2 separate regions of the Homo sapiens genome follow, and region 2 is linked to region 1. The links are contacts of gene promoters, found by promoter capture Hi-C in human tissues and cell types (Jung and others, 2019). All regions are on one chromosome and are shown on one strand. Each heading gives the region's core, a stretch centred on a gene start or on the middle of the fragment in contact. The rest is flanking DNA. Distances are from core to core; before and after follow the strand shown.

Evidence for each region. The method cuts DNA at HindIII sites, captures the fragments that hold promoters and counts their contacts. A contact is called where the count stands out against the background at its distance.
Region 2: a contact is called between a fragment that was not itself captured here and the fragment with the promoter of MYL10 in region 1, in 2 of the 25 tissues and cell types used here (IMR-90 fibroblasts and lymphoblastoid cells).

What each region holds. Positions count from the first base shown.
Region 1 is chr7:101,626,651-101,633,654 of GRCh38, forward strand. MYL10 (myosin light chain 10) reads right to left here and starts at 2,646. Exons shown (of 8, transcript NM_138403.5): 1 at 2,391-2,646. The coding sequence starts at 2,468. The HindIII fragment of the contact is 21,528 bases long and covers 1-4,021 here.
Region 2 is chr7:101,794,184-101,801,187 of GRCh38, forward strand. No RefSeq gene overlaps it. Among named protein-coding and RNA genes, the nearest start is that of CUX1, 20 kb to the right of the region's middle. The HindIII fragment of the contact is 4,862 bases long and covers 948-5,809 here.

The DNA.
Region 1 (7,004 bases), core at 1,396-3,895:
GCTGCCCCAAATACTGACCCCCGGCCCTCCCAGGGGGCCCCTGCCCTCAGAGCCACTGCCCCTGTGAAGCCCCCAGGCCCTGCCCACCTCGTCTCTCTCCACCCTCCTCTTCCTCATTCCCCAGCAGTCCCCACAAAGTCCAGGAAAGCAGAGGCTCAAATCAGGACCCACGTGGAGAGGAGTCCCGAGTGGGGCAGGTCCAAGCATGGGATCAAGAGCAAAGAGCAGGTCAGACCAGGGACAACATCAGATTAAGGTCAGGAAGGTCAGTGAGAGGCAGGATGAATTCAGGCAGGAGGTGAAGGTCAGAATCACACACAGAGTCAAGGTCACAGAACAAGGTCAAAGTTGAGAAATGAGGCCGGGCGCTGTGGCTCACGCCTGTAATCCCAGCACTCTGGGAGGCCGAAGCGGGTGAATCACTTGAGGTCAGGAGTTCGAGACCAACCTGGACAACATGGTGAAACCCCGTCTCTACCAAAAATACAAAAAAAAAAAAATAGCCATGTGTGGTGGCGGGCGCCTGTAATCCCAGTTACTCGGGAGGCTGAGACAGGAACCTCACTCGAAGCCAGGAGGTGGAGGTTGCAGTGAGCCGAGATCGAGCCACCGCACTCCAACCTGGGCAACAGAGTGAGATTCTGTCTAAAAAAGAAAAGGAATTGCGGAGTGAGGTCAGGGGCAGGGGCAGGGGCAGGGGCAGGGGTGGGAGGGAGGGGACCGCAGTGCTGAAGCCAAAGACACAACAGCCACAGGCCTGAGCTCCCCAGGGAGGAGGTGGAGGTGAGAGGAAGGTAGCCGTGGCAGAGCAGAACAACCCCAGCCTACCATGGTCTGGAGAGCTCCCTGAAGCTGCAGTTGGCCTGGGGATAGCTCAGAGATGGCCCTTAAATAGTGGTCCTCCCAGGGCCCCTGGCATGCACCGGGCCCAGTGTGGAAGGTGATCCATGACAGGACGGAGACCTCCCTGCCAGGCACCTGCCTTGGGCCATTCAGAGTGGATAGGGTTGGGGGGAATCCGTGGGCAAATACCACGGACGCAGGGACTGCCTAAGCCTCCAGGATCTCCGAGAGCCCTGGGCCAACTGTTTTCTCTAGAGCCAAGGGACCAAGACCCAGGAAGGGGCATTTGGCCAAGGACACAGAGTAAGTTGAGGCTGCCTACCCCAATGGGAAGACTTGGCCTTGAGCCGTCAGGGAGTGTTGCCCAGGGTGGGGCCACCCATGCTGGCTGGGACCCACTCAGACTGCAGTGTGGCCGGACCTCTGGAGCTGTGGGACTCTGGGTGGGACATCACCCTCTAGGAGGCTCAGCCATCTCATAGGAATAGGGGGGAGTGTATGAAACCCCCGGTCTGCTTATGGAGAGAGTTTCTGCACCAACCTGGCCCTCGGGGGCCCCTTCTACCAATATGCCTATTATCAGGGTGTCCATTAAGCACCCCCAGGCCAGGGGACCCCCTCAGGGCACTGAAATGCTCAATGAACAGAGAAAGCAACAGGACAAATAAAAGAAAAATGGGGTGGGCGCAGTGGCTCACGCCTGTAATCCCAGAGCTTTCGGAGGCCAAGAGGGAAGGATCGCTTCAGGCCAGGAGTTCAAGACCAGCCTGGGCAACATAGTGAGACCCCTATCTCTACAAAATATCAAAAAAATTAGCCGAGCATGGTGGTGTGCTCTTGTAGTCCCACCTACTCAGGAGGCTGAGGCAGGAGGATTGCTTGAGTCCAGGAGTTTGAGGCTGCAGTGATCTATGATTGTGCCACTGCACTCCAGCCTGGGCGACAGAGTGAGATATTGTCTCTTAAAAAAAAGAAAACAGAAAACTGGAGGTGACTCTGATGAGGAAGAACTGAAAAATGAGACCTCCATTCCACCCTGGCCTCACACACACACATCCATCCCCACCAGGCCTGGCCCAGCCCAAGAATTCTCTAGTAGATCTGCCAAACAGAGCCCACACCTGCCCTGGAAAGCCCCTCCTGTGTCTAGTGCAGCCCCAGCAGCCCCAGCTCGGCCTCAGAGGCTGCCACTGTCCATCTGGGGCCCGCCATATCTGAACAGCTGCCAGGGCCGGCAGTGCTGGGTTCAGGCAGTGAGCCCACGGGTCCCCAGGGGCTGGAGAGCTTAACTGTCCCTGGAGCTGGCCTCAGGCCTTCAGCCCCGGGTACAGCTGATCCCCTGCCTTTGGGGAAGGGAATATCATAATAATAATAAGAAGAGCAGCTAATATACAACACAGAAGGTCAGGCCATGTCTTAAAACACGTGTCCTCACATTCAATCCATATCCCATTTTCCAGATGAGGAAACTGAGGCACGCATGGGTTAAGTCACTCACCCAAGGCAGATAAGAAGTGGGGCCAGAGGCCAGGCACAGTGGCTCATACCTGTAATCCCAGCACTTTGGGAGGCCGAGGAGGGAGGATCACTTGAGGCCAGGAGTTTGAGACCAGCCTAAGCAACATGGTGAAACTCTGTTTCTACAAAAAAATTTTTTTTAATTAAAAAATTAGTCAGGCATAGTGGTGAAGTGAAAAAGTTCCCTTATCCCGTTCATAGGGCATGCGATGGGGGTGTGGCTCGCTTCTTCCATGCCCAGCTGCTCAAACCTCTAGGCGGACCATGCAGACAGGCAGGCTATGGGGCTCCGACCCCACGGCAGTGTCTAGGGGTGGATGCTTACAGCTCCTGAAGCCCCAGTGGGCGTGTGTTACAGGATGCTCTTTTACTTTTGCCATCTGTAGGTGGCTTGTGTTCATCAGCTCAGTTAGACCCTCTGCCTTATTGCAAGGACAAAGGGCTTTTTGTATCCTGGGGTTCTTGCCTTGGTGTACTGTGAAAATTGAATCACATGTGGGCTTGGAGAATGAGTGCGAGGTTTTATTGAGTGGTGGAAGTAGCTCTCAGCAGATGATGGGGAGCCAGAAGGGGGATGGAGTGGGAAGGTGATTTTTCCCCTGAAGTCAAGGTGCTCAGCAGCCAGACTCTCCTCTGACCATCCCCAGCCAAATTCCCCTGGGCATTTGTGTTATTCAGCCAGTCGATGGCCTGCCAGCATCTGCCAGTGCTGTCGGTGTGCTCTTCCGATCCTCTGCTCCTCTTGATGTCCAGCCACCTGTGTGTGTACCCACTGGGGTCTCAGGGTTTTCATAGGCACAGGATGGGCGGGGGGGCGGGGGGCGTGGTGGGCCAGGGTGGTCTTGGAAAATGTGACATTTGGGCATATAAACAGGAGTGCCTGTCCTCACCTAGGTCCGTGGGCACAGGCCCAAGGGTGGAGCCCTTGCCAGGGACCCTGCCTTTCTCCTCTCAGCACTTCCCTGTCCCCCCTCCTGTATCAGTGGCACATGCCTGCAGGCCCAGCTACTTAGGAGGCTGAGGTGGGAGGATCACATGAGCCCAGGAGGTTGAGGCTTCAATGAGCTGTGATTGCACCACTGCACTCCAGCCTGGACAACAGATCAAGGTCTCATTTCTAAAACAAAAAAAAAAAAAAAAAAAAAGAGAGAGAGAGAGGGAGGGCCAGGACAAGAGCCCCTCTTTCTAGTGTTTCCAGAAGGAAGCTTCCAAAAGGTTCTGCTCATCCAAACTCTCCCCTCCTCCTGCTCCCTCCCAGTCATCCCTGACTACAGCTATTTCTGATGTCCCTAAACTCCTGTGACTGAGTGCTCCTCCCAGAGCTGGGGCCAGGTCCAGCCATGATGCTGTGCAGCCCGCTTTCTGCAGCAGGAAACCGTGTGCCTCAGTTTCCCCGACAGGGCTGCTCTCCTGGTGTCCTGGCGTTCCTCTCCGGGGAGAAAAACCACACGTTCCACAGGTGTTCAACAAGCCAGGCGGAAAGGAGAACCCAGCTCTGGGGACGGGAGCCTGGATTCCAGTCCCAGCCGCCTGGACCTGCTACAGAAGGGGGCCTGTGTGACCGCGACAGTGGCTAGGGTGCAGGCTTTCCATGCCCGGTCTGTGAGCCTGGCCCTGGGGCCTCCTGGCTCTGGGCTTACAGAGTGGGTAGCAGACCTATAACTCCTGCTTCCTGCCTCTGGCTTCCTGCTGCCCTGAGGCCTCTGCAAGCAAGGGCTCTTGCCTCCGGGGAGCACGCCCAGGACCGTGGCAGGGGCTCCCAAAGGCCGGGGACAGGCCTGAGCAAGCGGAGAGCCCCCCCGCCTGCCCGGAGGAGGGGAAGCGGCGCTGGTGAATCACACCGGGCTTACAAATTAGTCTGAGTGGATTTCCTCCCCTGGCCTCCTCCTTCATAGGACCGGAGGCAGGAAGAACCGGTGAGAAATCTGGTAGAGACGTGAAAACCCCGGGGTGAGATGGTTGGGAGATGTTTGTTCCTGGGGGGCGGGAAGTGTGAGGGTGCAGTGGCCTTGAGAAGGGGGAGCCGTGAGTTCTGCACCCACAGTGGGACCCTCAGTTTTCCCCATCTGAGAAATGGTGCCAGCAGCCAGGACCCCTTGAGGCTGCCATCGGGAAGCTTAGTGCCATTGGAAGGAGGTGGGCTTTGGGGTCATCGGCCTGGGGTTTGGAGGGCAGAGCCTTCCCCTGTCCCCCTTTCCCCCTGTGTAGATGGAGTCCTTGACAGAACTTGCAGCCTCTCCAAGCTGCAGCCCCCTCACCCAGGTGACACTGCAATGAGTCAGTTGTCGTGGCTGGGTCACACTGTTTGACTCAACTGACCACAGGGCCAGGGCCAGTTCTTGGGGTCAGAGACACTCTGAGAGGTCTCTGCTCCCAGCCAGGGGACCCTGGAGAGTAAGTGTCCTCTGGAACTGGAATTCCAGGTCTGCCTGGGGTTGAGTCAGAGAATACTTAGCACTCTCGGTTTCCAGAGGTAACTGAGGTCCTGGGAGTGGCCAAGCCAGGAAGGGAGCTTGGAACGAGCCCAGCTGCCTGGCAGGGGGACAGCTGTTCCCCAGACAACACTGGAACAAGCCGGGGAGATGCCTTCCCCTTTCAACCCTCACCCCTAACCTCTCACCTATAACTCCTCAGGGTCAGCAGGCTGTCCCTGTCCCCCAGCCCCACAGCCCTTGACCCCTTCCCTGGCCAGCCATCACCCTGACCTTGGCTGTTCTGCAAATTCTTCCCGAAATCTCCTTCCTCCAAGCCTTTGGCCACATTGTATGTTTCCCTACTCATCACAATCAGTCTCCAGCCTGCTTTAGAACACCTCTCGGACGGCCGTGGTGGCTCCCGCCTGTAATCTCAGAACTTTAGGAGGCCAAAGTGGGTGGATCACCTGAGTTCAGGAGGTCAAGACCAGCCTGGACAACACGGCAAAACGCTGTCTCTACTAAAAGTACAAAAATTAGCCAGGCGTGGTGGTGTGCGTCTGTAATCCCAGCTACTCGGGAGGCCGAGGCAGGAGAATCGCTTGAACCTGGGAGGTGGAAGTTGCAGTGAGCTGAGATAGCACCACTGCACTCTAGCCTGGGTAACAGAGTGAGACTGTGTCTCAAAAGAAAACACAAAAAACAAAAAACAACAAAAACAAAAGGAAGCCAACAGTGCTGCCTTCAGTCTGTGGCCGAAGGCCCAAGAGCTCCTGGCAAACCACTGGTTTAAGTTCAAGAGTTCAAAAGCTGAAGAACTTGGAGTCTGATGTTCGAGGGCAGGAAGCTTCCAGCACAGAAGATGAAGGCTGGAAGACTCAGTGAGTCTTCTTATTCCACTTTCTTCTTTCTGCTTTATTCTGGCCTCACTGGCTGATTAGACGCTGCCCACACAGATTAAGGGTGGGTCTGCTTCTCTCAGTCCACCGACTCAAATGTTAATTTCCTCTACCAACACCCTCACAGACATACCCAGAAACAATACTTTGCATCCTTCAATCCAATCAAGTTGATACTTAATATTAGCCATCACACCTACCTACTGAATTTGAGAGCCTAGGCCACTTTCTGACCTTCCCTGAGCAATCCCAGGCTGCCGTAAAAAATGCCTGCAAATTCTTTGACACTTTTTCCATGGAGAGGCGGGATCTATAACATCATTCCTTGCCAACAGGCAGGCTTTTGTGACTGCTTTGACCAAGAAAGTAGGGTAGAAGTGTCACTATGTGACTTCTGAGGTTAAGTCACAAAAAGCCATGGAGCTTCTACCTTATTTGCTGGGACTTTGTGCTGGAGCCCTGAGTCACTCTATGACGAGTCTGACTACCATGAGGCGGCCATGTTGTAGGGAAGACCAAGTCACACGAAGAGGCCCCGTGTCTGTACTCCAGTCAGCAGTCCCTGCCTTTGAGTCATCATCCGAGCCTCCCAGACAACAAACGTGTGAATGACCAGTCTTCAAGTGATTCTGGCACCAGCCATGGAGTCATCCCCATCCTTAGAGTCCCCCGAGCTGAGGCCCTAGACATTATGACAAGCCACCCTCACCATCCCTTTTCTGAATTTCTGATCCATAAGAACCCCTGAGCACACTGCTATGCTTTGGGGTTTTTTTTTGTTTTTTGTTTTTCTTTGAGATAGAGTCTCACTCTGTTGCCCAGGCTGGAGTATAGTGGTGTGATCTCAGCTCACTGCAACCTCCACCTCCTGGGTTTAAGTGATTCTTCTGCCTCAGCCTCCCGAGTAGCTGGGATTACAGGCACCCAACACCACGCCCAGCTAATTTTTGTATTTTTAGTAGAGACTGGTTTCACCATGTTGGCCAGGCTGGCCTTGAAGTCCTGACCACAAGTGATCTGTCCGCTTCGGCCTCCCAAACTGCTGGGATTACAGGCATGAGCCACCATGCGCTGTGCTTTGGGCTGATTCTTTACAAAATATCATAATAACCATCACAGTGAGATTTAAATGTGCTCTGTAGGGGGACAGGCTACACAGCCATAGTCTACTCCTCAGGGCTCTGGGGAAGATGAGAGCATGAATTTGAAATCAGATGAAAGTGACTTCAAGTCCTGCTGGACCACTTGCTCTGTGACCTCACCCACATCACTGAATTTCCCAGAATCCTCAGCTTCTCCACCTGTCACATGGAATCAGTTTTCACTTGGC
Region 2 (7,004 bases), core at 2,129-4,628, 170 kb after region 1:
GGCAAGACCCTGTCTCTACTAAAAATACAAAAATTAGCTGGGTATGGTGGTGCACACCTGTAATCCCAGCTACTCGGGAGGCTGAGGCCGGAGAATCGCTCGAACCTGGGAGGCGGAGGTTGCAGTGAGTTGAGATTGCACCACTGCACTCCAGCCTGGGCAACAGAGGGAGACTGTCTTCAAAAAAGGGAAAAAAGGAGAGATGCCAGAGGTAAGCATTTCAGGAGGCTCACCCAGGTGGCCCTGGAGAATGGCCACTGGGTGACTTGGTCCCTAGATCCTGTGAACTTGAGAGTATAGAACCCAAGGGGGAGGGAATGAAGGGAAATGAAAAGCAGAAGCAGGTTGGGAGCGGTGGCTCACACCCATAATCCTAGTGCTCTGGGAGGCCGCAGATCACTTGAGGCCAGGAGTTTGAAACAAGCCCAGGCAACATAGTGAGACCTCATCTCTATTAAAAAAAAAAAAATTTATCCAGGAGTGGTGGCATGTGCCTGTAGTCCCAGCTACTTGGGAGGCTGAGATGGGAGGATCCCTTGAGCCCAGGAGTTTGAGGGTACAGTGAGTTATGGTCGCACCACTGCACTCCAGCCTGGGCAACAAAGCAAGACCTTTTTCTCTAAAAAAGAAAAAGAAGGCCAGGTGCAGTGGCTCACGCCTGTAATCCCAGCACTTTGGGAGGCTGAGGTGGGCGGATCATGAGGTCAGGAGATTGAGACCATCCTGGCTAACACAGCGAAACCCCGTCTCTACTAAAAATACAAAAAATTAGCCGGGCGTGGTGGCGGGTGCCTGTAGTCCCAGCTACTCAGGAGACTGAGGCAGGAGAATGGTGTGAACCCGGGAGGTGGAGCTTGCAGTGAGCCGAGATTGCGCCACTGCACTCCAGCCTGGGCGACAGAGCAAGACTCCATCTAAAAAAAGAAAAAAAGAAAAGCAGAAGGGTCTGGGCTGTCGTTCCCAATCTTTCCCTCTTTCTGATGCACAGTGAGGGTCCAGTCACGTGGTGTCCACTTCTATCATCTCTCCACCATCCATGACCTAGAAGCTGCCCAAGGCAGAAACTGGGCTTTACGGACCTGATTTCTGTATCATCATTTTTTGTTTTTTTTTGAGACGGAGTCTCACTCTGTCACCCAGGCTGGAATGCAATGGCGTGATCTCAGCTCACTGCAACCTCCACCTCCCAAGTTCAAGCAATTCTCCTGCCTCAGCCTCCCGAGTAGCTGGGACTACAGGCACATGCCACCACACCCAGCTAATTTTTGTATTTTTAGTAGACATGGGGTTTCACCATGTTGGCCAGGATGGTCTCGATCTCTTGACCCTGTGATCCTTCTGCCTCGGCCTCCCAAAGTGCTGGGATTACATTGCACCCAGCCCTGCATCACCTTCTTAAGCCCCTTTTTTCCGGCCCCACCTAATACCACGCATGTCAGGGTTGCCTGGCCTAGCACAGCACAGCCTAGCCTGGAGGAGAAGTCCATACTTACCTATGCCTGGTGGGGGATGCCGCCTTCACCAAGGTGTGAGCCCATGGAGGCTGGCCTCCTTTAAGAGTCTGGCCAGAGGACTTGAGGTGGCCTAAACACACCATGAGCAGACTAATGATACCAAAGTGGAACCAGAATGATAAGTCCTAGCTCCCCAAAATTTGAGCATCTATTCTGTGCCAAACACTATAGCAGACATTTTATTATTTATATGTTTATTTATTTTGAGACAGAGTTTTGCTCTTGTCACCCAGGTTGGAGTGCAATGGCGTGATCTCGGCTCACTGCAACCTCTACCTCCCAGTTCAAGCAATACCTCAACCTCCTACGTAGCTGGGATTACGGGTGCCCGCCACCATGCCCAGCTAATTTTTGTATTTTTAGTAGAGATGGGGTTTCATCATGTTGCCCAGGTTGCTCTTGAACTCCTGACCTCAGGTGATCCACCAGCCTTGGCCTCCCAAAGTGCTGGGATTACAGGCATTAGTCACCCCATCTGGCCTATGCTACTTACTTCCAATACCCTACCATTGTCCTTTTAGTGATGACCATACCCAGGCGATCTCGATGCCCAAGATTTAAGGTGCAGGAAATCCCACTGGAGTTCAGAGCTGCTGCTTTTTTTTTTTCCTCCAAGAGAAATTGTTGAAGTCAAACTTGACCAAGTTCTTTCTGCAAACTGGATGCCTTCACATGCCTGTCTCCAGATCCATGCTTCAAGGCTAAGTGTTATTAATAAAAGTAATGCAGATTGGGAGGCCGAGGCAGGCGGATTATGAGATCAGGAGTTCGAGACCACCCTGGCCAACATGGTGAAACCCCTCTCTACTAAAAATAGAAAAATTGGCCGGGCGTGGTGGCGGGCATCTGTAATCCCAGCTACTTGGGAGGCTGAGGCAGGAGAATCTCTTGAACCCAGGAGGCGGAGGTTGCAGTGAGCTGAGATTGTGCCACTGCACTCCAGCCTGGTGACAGAGCGAGACTCCATCTCAAAAAAAAAAAAAAAAAAAAAAGCCATCCTGGCTAACACGGTGAAACCCCGTCTCTACCAAAAATACACAAAAATTAGCCAGGTGTGTGGCAGACACTTGTAGTCCCAGCTGCTCAGGAGGCCGAGGCAGGAGAATGGCGTGAACCCGAGAGGTGGAGCTCGCAGTGAGCCGAGATCGCGCCACTGCACTCCAGCCTGGGTGACAGAGCGAGACTCTGTCTCAAAGAAAAAAAAAAAAAGTAATGGAGAAGCTGAAGGTTACCCAACTCGTTTCCTGGGCTTGCTTCTCTCTGTCACAGTTCCCTGACAATGATGAAAGCCTGTTCTTTCCAGCCCTCGGCCTCTGTTGGTCCTCACTTTGCAAATGTCTTTCCCAATCTTCACCCACACCAGAAACTCCACGTCTCCCCATGAGAGTTCCCAGGACACCCCGTGAGCCGTTTGCAAGAGAGTGTATCACCTTTAACTCGCCCCTGTCTGTTGCAGGAAACAGGGGTCAGACTGTTCTACGCTTTGAGCACATGGCCTTTGAGGCTTCTCACTTGATCCTCAGAGCTAAATGCTCTCAGATCAGAACAGCAAAGGACTTCGGCCTCAGACCCAGCAAGAGATGTTGTCATTGCATACAATCAGCCAGGAATGCCTTCATTCATTCTACACATCTTTATTGACACAGCCTGGCCCTGAAGTCAAAAGAATGAGAAAGGAGGAAGACAGGCTTGGTGCCTGCCTCCCTGTGTTTAGAGGTTAGCAGAAAAAGAACTAAATCAGGGATGCATTAGAATTATGGTATTACGCCACCATGGAATACTATGCAGCCATAAAAAAGAATGAGTTTGGCCGGGCACAGTGGCTCACCCCTGTAATCCCAGCACTCTGGGAGGCTGAGGCAGGTGGATCACCTGAGGTCAGGAGTTTGACACCAGCCTGACCAACATGCTAAAACCTCGCCTCCACTAAAAATACAAAATTAGCCAGGCATAGTGGTGCATGCATGTAATTAATCCCAGCTACTTGGGAGGCTGAGGCAGGAGAATCACTTGAACCTCGGAGGCAGAGGTTGCAGTGAGCCGAGATGGCACCACTGCACTCCAGCCTGGGCAACAAGAGAGAAACTCCATCTCAAAAAAAAAATAAAGAAAGAAAGAATGAGTTAATGTCCTTTGCAGGGACATGGATGAAGCTGGAAGCCGTCATTCTCAGCAAACTAACACGGGAACAGAAAACCAAACACCGCATGTTCTCCCTCATAAGTGGGAGTTGAACAATGAGAACACATGGACACAGGGAGGGGAACATCACACACCGGGGCCTGTTGGGGGGTGGGGGGGCAAGGAGAGAGAGAACATTAGGACAGATGTCTAATGCATGCGGGGCTTAAAACCTAGATGACAGGTCGATAGGTGCAGCAAACCACCATGGCACATGTATACCTATATAGCAAACCTGCACTTTCTGCACATGTATCCCAGAACTTAAAATTTTTTAAAAAAATTATGGTATTATGCATACTAGGCTGGGTGTGGTGGTTCATGCCTGTAATCCTAGCACTTTGAGAGGCCGAGGGGGGTGGATCGCCTGAGCTCAGGAGTTCAAGACCACCCTGGGCAACATGATGAAATCACGTCTCAACTAAAATGCAAAAAATCAGCCAGGCGTGGTGGCGCACCTGTAGTCCAGCTACTCAGGAGGCTGAGGCAAGAGAATTGCTTGAGCCCGGGAGGTGGAGGTAGCAGTGAGCTGAGATCACGCCACTGCACTGCACTCCAGCCTGGGCGATGAAGCGAGACGCTGTCTCAAAAAAAAAAAAAAAAAAGAAAGAAAGAAAAGTGTGGTATTATGCATACTAACAACAGGGAAAAGTGAACCAGCTCCCAACTGAATCCTACTTTGCTAAGTTGTGTACATGTTTTCTTTATTCATTTCCATTCACTTATGTACAAGTTAAATATATATTTTTTAATTCCTGCTGTATCCGTCAGGGGACTAGCAGGAAACAGAATCAAACAGGGACGATTTAAGAGAAGTTAAGAAGGGACTAGGAGGCTGGCTGTGGTGGCTTACGCCTGTAATCCCAACACTTTGGGAGGATTGCTTGAGTCCAGGAGTTTGAGGCCAGCTTGGGCAATATAGCAAGACCCCATCACTATAAAGATTGTTTTTGGTTGGCCACGGTGGCTCACGCCTGTAATCCCAGCACTTTGGGAGGCCGAGGCAGGCAGATCACTTGAGGTCAGGAGTTCGAGACCAGCCTGGCCAGCATGGTGAAACCCCATCTGTACTAAAAATATAAAAAACTAGATTGGCATGGTGGTGCTTGCCTGTAGTCCCAGCTACTCGGGAGGCTGAGGCAGAAGGATTGCTTGAACCCGGCAGACAGAGGTTGCAGTGAGCCAAGATCGAGCCATTGCACTCCAGGCTGGACAACAGAGCAAGACTCTGTCTCAAAAAAAAAAAAAAAGGTTTTTTTTTTTGTTTTTTTTTTAATAGCTGGGCATGCACCTGTAGTCCCAGCTACTCAGGAGGCTGAGGCAAGAGGATTGCTTGAGGCCAGGAGTTTGAGACCAGCCTGGGCAACATAGAGAGACCCTGTCTCTATAAAAAAAAATTTTTTTTAATTAGCCAGGTGTGGTGGCACACTTCCGTGGTCCTAGCTACTTGGGAGGCTGTGGCAGGAGGATCACTTGAGCCCAGGAGTTTGAGGCTGCAATGAGCTATGATTGCTCCACTGCACTCCAGCCTGGAAGACAAAGTGAAATCCAGTCTCCAAACAAACAAACAAACAAACAAACACCTCACAAACAAACAACAAGCAAAGGACAGTTAGGAGCGCTGGTTAATCCGTGCTCTTTCAGGAAGCCAGGGTGCACAATTTACTCTCAAAATAAGAGTGGGCAGGGGTGGAGACGGTAGTCATTCATTACCATTCTCTCTATATTAATCGACTAAACCGATAACCACCAGCTGTCTCGCGTCTTTGTGAATTCACAGACATAATGTGTGTGCATCTGGGTCTTAACAAGAGATCATGGAGGCTGAGTAATGTTTGGGCAGAGAAAAAAATTATTGCATTAAGCAATATGATCTTCAAAAATTGACAGCTGGTGATATGGAAGCTTTCAATCTTTTATTTTGTCTTAGGCTGAGAGGCAAAGTCTGGTGTTTAGCTGTATTTTGTATTGATTTTCCAAATGACAAAGAAAATTTCAAAAGCTGTCAAACAAACACGAGACACTTACGAAGTGAAGCTGTGTTTCATTGGGATTTATGCTTTCTTCCTCATCTATTATGGATATTTCATTAGCGATTAGTCAGAAACTTTTGAAGCTAGCTTCGGAGTTTGTCATTTAGAGCTTTCATATCAATTTCCTTAAAACATAAGAAATAACATTCCTATAAATAAGGCAAAGGGCTAAGGCAGATAATACAGTGCGGAAGGCAAAACATAATTTCCAAACATATGCAATTATGAAAAATAGAATAACAAAGTAGGCAATGTTTCAAATGAAGTTCCTAAATGCACATTTCATTTAAGCTTAATAAAATATCACTTATATTGCAGTAATACCATTTAATTATTAAAAATTCTATCCAACCGGATTAATAACTATGTAAAAGATGCTTGTCTAAATTCGAAATTTTCCTCCACTCAGCAGCCTCTCATTATGAAGACTAGCCCTCTTTTAGAATGAATTTTCTTCTGTCCATCAAAAACCCTGCCTGTTAACTCATTTTTAACACTGTAAATTATTTATATCAGATGCTTGGAAACACAGAGCAAAATAGAGAAGATGTCACCCACGCATCATTTTATGTTCATTTTTCACCTACTATATCTTCTTAGGCTCAGGCAATTTTAAAAAAACAAATTTTTTGAGACAGTCTCACTCTGTTACCCAGGCTGGAGTGCAGTGGTACGATCTCAGCTCATTGCAGGCGCCAACTGCTGGGCTGAAGTGATTCTCCTGCCTCAGCCTCCTGAGCAGCTGGGAAAACAAGTGCATGTGCCACCGTGCCCCAGCTAACTTTTTGAATCTTTTGTAGAGACGTAGTCTTGCTATGTTGCCCAGGCTGGTCTTGAGCTCCTGGCCTCAAGCCATCCCCCTACCTCGGCCTCCCCAAGTGCTGGGATAGAAACTGGCCTTTATACATGCTAGGTGTCCCACAGACACTGGACATGTGTTATCATTTTTTTTTTTTTTGAGATAGCGTCTCACTCTGTCGCCTAGGCTGGAGTGCAGTGGCACAATCTTGGCTCACTGCAACCTCTGCCTCCCGGGTACAAGCAATTCTCCTGCCTCAACCTCCAGAGTAGCTGGGACTATAGGCATGTGCCACCACACCTGGCTAATTTTTGTATTTTTAGTAGAGACGGGGTTTCACCATGTTGACCAGGCTGGTCTTGAACTCCTGACCTCAAGTGATGCACCCGCCTTGGCCTCCCAAAGTGCTGGGATTACAGGCATGAGCCACAGCACCTGGCCGACATGTGTTATCTTAATTATTCCTTACAAGCTCGT